Linked DNA regions of Homo sapiens: region 1 is linked to region 2. Evidence: promoter capture Hi-C in 16 types of primary human blood cells and fetal thymus (Javierre and others, 2016). All regions are on one chromosome and are shown on one strand. Each heading gives the region's core, a stretch centred on a gene start or on the middle of the fragment in contact. The rest is flanking DNA. Distances are from core to core; before and after follow the strand shown. Region 1 overlaps GPC5 (glypican 5). Region 2 holds the start of GPC6-AS1 (GPC6 antisense RNA 1).

What was found. The method cuts DNA at HindIII sites, captures the fragments that hold promoters and counts their contacts. A CHiCAGO score of 5 or more calls a contact.
Region 1: a contact is called between a fragment that was not itself captured here and the fragment with the promoter of GPC6-AS1 in region 2, in 2 of 17 cell types (M2 macrophages and M0 macrophages). The highest score is 6.5, in M2 macrophages.

Annotation. Positions count from the first base shown.
Region 1 is chr13:92,172,895-92,176,201 of GRCh38, forward strand. All of the region lies in intron 7 of GPC5 (glypican 5), which reads left to right. Among named protein-coding and RNA genes, the nearest start is that of GPC5-AS2, 180 kb to the right of the region's middle. The HindIII fragment of the contact is 3,535 bases long and covers 148-3,307 here.
Region 2 is chr13:94,186,316-94,189,871 of GRCh38, forward strand. It overlaps GPC6-AS1 (GPC6 antisense RNA 1), which reads right to left and starts at 1,676. Exons shown (of 4, transcript NR_046535.1): 1 at 1,556-1,676; 2 at 909-1,058; 3 at 591-803. The region is part of intron 4 of GPC6 (glypican 6); the gene reads left to right. RefSeq lists an enhancer at 1,832-2,747. The HindIII fragment of the contact is 1,586 bases long and covers 456-2,041 here.

The DNA.
Region 1 (3,307 bases), core at 665-3,164, 2.0 Mb before region 2:
AAGCTCTTATAGTTCTAGGGTTTTTTTAATTAAAAAATTTAGGCAATTATTTTAATTTGACTATACCTGTTAACAATATAAGAAACGTTGCAACAGTCAAACGAGCAACTCTTAAGTCTTATTACATGTTATCTGTATCACCACCAAAGCTTTTTTTGGTTAAAGTAATTTTTGCTTATAGATTCAATCAATCTGTAAGACCAGTCCAAAGGGGAAATCCTTTGTTGTCTATATGCTGTGATCAATGAACTGAGTGTGAGTGCAACTAAACTCCCATTTGACTCAGTCATTAATGGATTTTTTTTTCAAAGTGGGATTACCCACATTAAAAACAGAGATCGGCCATTCTCACCTAGGTCATTAAATTTGTTTTCCTGGCCACCTTTCATTTAGCCTGATGCTTTTCCGCTTAGGTGTGTCGATTCTGGGTTTTTAGGAAATGAAGTCCTTCATGTTGACTGTGGTATGTGAAGACCCTGATATCTCTGCTGCTCTGACCCCATTAAACTTTCAGATTTTACTGCCATATTGCTTTTGTACATGTGCTTTTGTTTCATGTACCTCATGTGCCATGAGGACACTCAGTGGGGAGTCTGGCACCTGCCTGGACAAACCCTTTCCTTTTGTTCTTCCTCTTAATGAAATACTTTCTATCAAAATTACTTATTCAAATTTTGCTAATTTTTTAGGAGTTGGTTTAATAAAGTGTTCTTTAGTACCTCTAACAGAAAACCATTTCTTTCATTAAAATGCAATGAGCAAAAACCTAGTGTCACTTGTGTGCCACGTCTCACATTCTATAGTATATAATAATTATTTATATGAACACTCATCTCCCCTTACTAAGACCCTTGATGTAATCAATATACTTTTATTATTATGAGCCAACAAATATTTGCAGAATGTGGAAGGCAATATTAAGACATCTAGGCCAGGCTTGGTAGCACACACCTAATTCCCAGCACTTTGGGAAGCCGAGGAAGGTGGATCACTTGAGGTCAGGAGTTTGAGACAAGCCTGGCCAACGTGGTGAAACCCCATGTCTACTAAAAATACAAAAATTAGTTGGGTGTGGTGGCACCCACCTGTAGTCCCAGCTACTGAGGAAGTTGAGGTGGGAGGATCACTTGAGTCCAGGAGACAGAGGTTTCAGTGAGCCAAGGTGAAACCACTGCACTCTAGCCTGGGTGACTGAGTGAGAGACCCCGTCAAAAAGAAAGGAAAAGAAAAGACATCTTTGGATATTCTTAGGCTTGCTGATAAAAGTCATCTTTACGTCATTAAAAAAATATGTGTCTATGTATATTTATTTCATGTATATATTAAATAGAAAGGCCAAAATTTGGGCCGGGTGTGGTGGCTCACACCTGTGATTCCAGCGCTTTGGGAGGCCGAGACAGGTGGATCACGAGGTCAGGAAATTGAGACCATCCTGGCTAACACGGTGAAACCCTGTCTCTACTAAAAACACAAAAAAAAAAACAAAAAAAAATGGCCGGGTGTGGTGGCGGGCATCTGTATTCCCAGCTACTCGGGAGGCTGAGGCAGGAGAACCGCGTGAACCCGGGAGGCGGGGCTTGCAGTGCGCAGAGATCGCACCACTGCATTCCAGCCTAGGCGACAGAGCGAGATTCCAACTCAAAGAAAAAAAAAAAACAAAAACAACAACAACAACAAAAAAAACAAAATTTAAATAACTCATTACTTCATTCATACATTTATCCACCTATACACTTCTTTACTTAAAAACAGCAAAAAGTATTAATCACTTTATTGAGCACCTTGCTGGGCATCAGGAATAAAAAACAGATTAGTCAAAAATACGGTTCTATTCCTCAAGGTTAAAATAGTGTGCAGAAGAAAAAACAAATAGCGATGTCATAGAATTTAAAATGTTATCGTAAAGTGCAGAGTACCATTAAAATAACACACTGTGAGACTTCGAAAAGTCCTCCCTTGAACCTTCATTTTTGAGACAGAGTTTCGCTCTTATAGCCCAGGCTGGAGTGCAGTGGCCCCTTCTCAGCTCATCGCAACCTCTGCCTTCTGGGTTCAAGCGATTCTCCTGTCTCAGCCTCCCGAGTAGCTGGGGTTACAGGGATGCGCCACCACGTCCTGCTAAATTTTTTTGTAGTTTTAGTAGAGACGGGGTTTCTCCATGTTGGTCAGGCTGTTCTCAAACTCCCGACCTCAGGTGATCAACCCGCCTTGGCCACCCAAAGTGCTGGGATTACAGGCGTGAGCCACTGTGCCTGGCCGAACTTTGATTTTTTCATTAGAATTTCTGGAAACATTATTTTATTATATGTTGGCATATTAGTGAAACATATATTTATTAACCTGTTTTCAGATTTAATGGTGACCCTGTATGTTTGTTTCTGTTTATCGATATCTAGCTATAGTTATGTTTACATCTATACCATATTTTGTATCTATACATATATAAAAGCATCTAAATAGGGCTTGACACCTAATTGGAATTCAATAAGTGTTTGCTTCTTTTCTGATTCTAGATTATGTCAAAATTTAGTAGTGCGTTCTAATAAAGTTGAAGAACATTTGAATAGGAGGTTATGATGACATCACTGTGATGCCTACTGCTGTAGTCCAGCTATCTAAGAGCTGAATTGCTTTCAGTTTTATCTGCGGTTCTAAAGTTGGTGGGCGCCCCTTTGGAAACGTTTACTGAACTCTTGGTACAGAGGCCACTAGATGGGGCTTGTGGGCTTAGTACTTTATAGTTTAGAAAAGTCACTTAAAAAAACTCAGACTTCTCTTTAACCTATTCTGTTCTTTATTAACTGTAACACTGTGAGCAATTATAATTAGAAATCTTTTTATATTAGCAAGTGTGAAACCTAACTATTGCCCTTGCAAATATGTGATATTCCTCAAAGAAAAAAAAAACATCTCCCTACAGCCAGGCACATTTATCTCTTTAGAGGCTAAATACAAGACCCCGTTACCAATTTAATAGTAGTTTTCAAACCTGTCTCCTCATATAGAAGAATCTCAGATACAGAATCCTGGAAGCTCTGTTCCTACTTTTTAGGTTTCAGATTCAATGGTGACTCTGTATGTTTGTTTCCATTTATCTATATCTAGCCAGAAACATGCTTTACCATTATCATGAAGTTTGCTCCTTACCCATTGCTAGTGTTTGTTTTCCTCTAAGACAGTGGTTCTCAAATTTTAATGTGCATCAGAATCACCATATATCGTGAAGGACTTTAGAAAATACAAATTACTGTCCACAACCCCAGAATTTCTAATTCAGTAAGTCTAGGATGGAGCCGGTGACTCTGAA
Region 2 (3,556 bases), core at 426-2,925:
TTAGCTTTTGAAAAACTAAAAGAACTTAAAGATGCTTGCAAGCCAACAAGAGCAGAGTCCCATTTTCCTCCTTCTTTAAATTTCGTATCATTGTCTTACCTTTACCAAGATTTTTCAACCATTCTACTTCACCCAGTCTTTCCAAAGTACTTAATTTTTTTTCTAAATTGATATTTAATGGGTTGCTCAATTTTACAAATAACATAAGAAGGTTTAGGGTCACCGCAACAGATTCTTTGAAACCATAAAATTCAACCCTTGGCTACGATGTTGGTGGGGGATTAAAGAGTAGCCTACCAGCCTCAAGTGGTCAAAATGACATGGACATTCTCACAGGCACTTTAAAGAAAAAAATGACGAGTTGGCTATATTTATGCATGCAGAATTATTTTTATAGAGTTCTATCTTGATTAAAACATAATTTAGTAGATTAAATATGCTATCTTCTTTGAGCAAGCTTTGGAAGACCAAGCTACTAGTAGAATTATACCAGAGTTAGGATACTGCCCTCTGCATACACTCAAATAGCAGGCCAGAATCCCAATAGAAAATGAGCATGCTTAGCTATGTTTCTGTAGTATGGAACTTACGAAGGTTCGATTCTTGATTTCTCATATGAATCAGAGCTCTCTCTCTCCTTTCCAGTGTGACCCAGTTGTATTTTGCATAGGCAGATGGTTTGAAGGAAAATTCCAGATTATTAGCATTTGCACTGGAGCTTGACAATCACCTTTATGAACCTGCTCTTGGAATAGCAGCCTTGGAAGATCCTGGAGTCAATCTCCTTTTATTTCAGATGAAAACTGATGACAGGGAAAGAGCCCAGGAAGAAAGTTTTTATTCTTGGTGCCTTGGGCAACGTGTGTATCCTCCCTCAAAAGAAGGCTTGGAGCAAAATGAACACTTACAGGAAACTGAGGCTCGTATGTTTTATGCAGTGAATCACCGGCATAATTGGAATTCTAACCTCGAAATTTTATTTCCAAATTTGACTGGCTCCACTCCTTATACATCAAATTGATCAAAGCAGAAATTACAGATTCAAATTTATGGTAAAGCTAAGAAAAAGAAAGCAGAACGATGAGTCAGAAGGTAAGAGGCCACGTAACCCAATATTTTTTTAGCATAAAGCATTCACGAATTTTACTGGCACCTCAACTAAAATGATGTTCTTTTAAAATCGTGTCACTTGATTATAAACATCTTGTTTTAAAAATGGAACATATAATCCAACATCCCCCAAATTTCTAGACTAATTCAAACATAAGAGTTGATCTTAATATGGATTTAGGTATTCAACAAATACTTATAGAGTGTCCACTATCGGGCAAACATTGTTCTAGGTGCTGGAGTTACAACAGTGAACAAATAGGCAAAACCTTTACCCTCATGAGGCTTAGAGTCCAGTGGAAAGGAAAAGACCAAAAATAAGATAAGAAAACTTTATGGAAATATATAAACATACATAGGTATGTCTATATAATACACTGTGATATACCTAGTAAGATATATATAGTTTTGAGAGAAAAACATGGCTAACTTGTTTGTGCCTTACCTTGTCATACAGAATTAGAATATTATCCATACTGAATTCCTGGGCCCAGCCCTGGCCAGTGTCTCTGCCATTTTATGGGGTACATTATCTCTGCTGAGCTAAGTAATTGCTAAATCCACACTGGAGGCTGTGTGAGTAGAGAAGTGACACACCAGTTAACAGGGTGAGAAATTAATGCAAATTAATTCTCCACCCTCCCAGCAGACACTGCTCCCACTTTCTTGCCCTTCTCCATCCCCCTGCCAGTTCACAGAGAAAAGTATGAATATTACAAATGATACTCACTTCATGTCTCAGTGACCTAGAAAGGAGTGTGTGCACTAAGGTGCAGCAGTGCTTTAATGACGCTGAGCCCAAAAGCAAGGCAGTGACACAAAGAGGGGAGTGGTGTCACTGAGAGGAAGGCCCAAGCACTTTCCCCTTCTGCACCTCTTCCCAGGAGACAGGGGTGAGTTAAGGCAGCACAAGGTCACTGGGATTGCCTGAAGCTTGACCACAGGCACGAGTGACTTTCCTCTTGGCTGGTACCATCTGTATAGGGGAATAGAAGATTTTTATCATAACAAAGGATATCTCAATAGAGTCAATTAGCCCAGCATGCCTCAGAGAGTTCTGTGATGTGAGTGGTCACTTCTTTGAACTAAAGTTGAATAAAGAAAAAAAGAAAGTGAAATCATTTCAGTTACAAAGAACCTAGCACTGCATTCTATAAGGTTTTATCATTCAGATTTGGAAGGAGACGGGAGCCATGGTGGATGCCGTGAGGTGTCACCAGATCCCTTTGTGGGACTATATCCATCCCCCACCCTCCAGCTGTTCTGAGGATTGGCTGCTCACCTCTGTCCCCTTCTTTAGGGACCTCTGTATCTGGAGAGGCACTTGCACCACACCCCATCCCATAGCTGGTGACCGATTTGTTATCAGAGCTCCTTCATACTAAAGAAAGAGAGACTGAGACTCAAGCTGCTGAAGAGCTTTCCTCAAAGTCTCACAATCTGGTCAGTCGTCAAAGGAGTCTGTCTGACTCCAAATCCATCCTCTCTCCCCTCAATCGTATAGTTGCTTTATTCTCTTCTAGTGCTGTGGAGAAGCAGCCCCAGTTTGCCACTGAATAATAAGCGTCCCCACCATTTCCTTTCCCCATTGTTGTTATAGGGATTCCTAATATGTGTTGCTAAGGCTTCACCTTATATCACCCAGAAGCTCTAACCTGTGGCTTCCTCAAGAGACATTATCCCTGAAAAACGGGTAGAAATTCAGGAAACTGCTTACTCAATTTCTCAGGTGGTGGCGGATGTTTTCTTCCTTATTCTTTGTTTTCTGCTTGGTAAGTCTGTGTGTAGGTGGTTTAATTGTGCTGAACAGATTCTTTCTCTCCTCTGTACAAAATGGGCTTTGGGGGTGGACAGGAGGAGGAAGAGAAAGATGTGAGTTTCACATAAGAGCAGAGGGATCCTTAGCCTGTCAGCTGAGAAACGAGGACTGTGTATTCCTGAGTAGTGCCTCCTGCCTTTCAAGCCTGGAAAGAGAACAGGAGAGGGAGGCATGCTCCCCACCCTGGGATGTTCCCTTTACTGCTACCACTTATTGCTTTACTGGACATCATAAAGATTGCAAGATGGACGGAATTTATTTGGATAAAAAGCAGTGGATGTTGGGTATAAGTAAATTAGCAACAGGTGATAGATTCTGAACATAGGACACCTCTAGATTGTTATGTCAATCCACACATTCCTTGCAATGTCAAGGAAGGAGTAAATTTTCCAGATAAATTAAACAATTAAAAGAGTATCAAAACTTAAAAAATTCATTCCATTTTGTGGAGATCTTTCCATGATCCAACATCTCTTCTCATTAAAATGTATGCAGAGCCAGGCGCGGTGGCTTACGCCTGTAATCCCCACACTTTGGGAGACCGACGCGGGCAGATCACAAGGTCAGGAGATCAAGACCATCCTGGCTAACATGGTGAAACGCCGTCTCTACTAAAAATACAAAAAA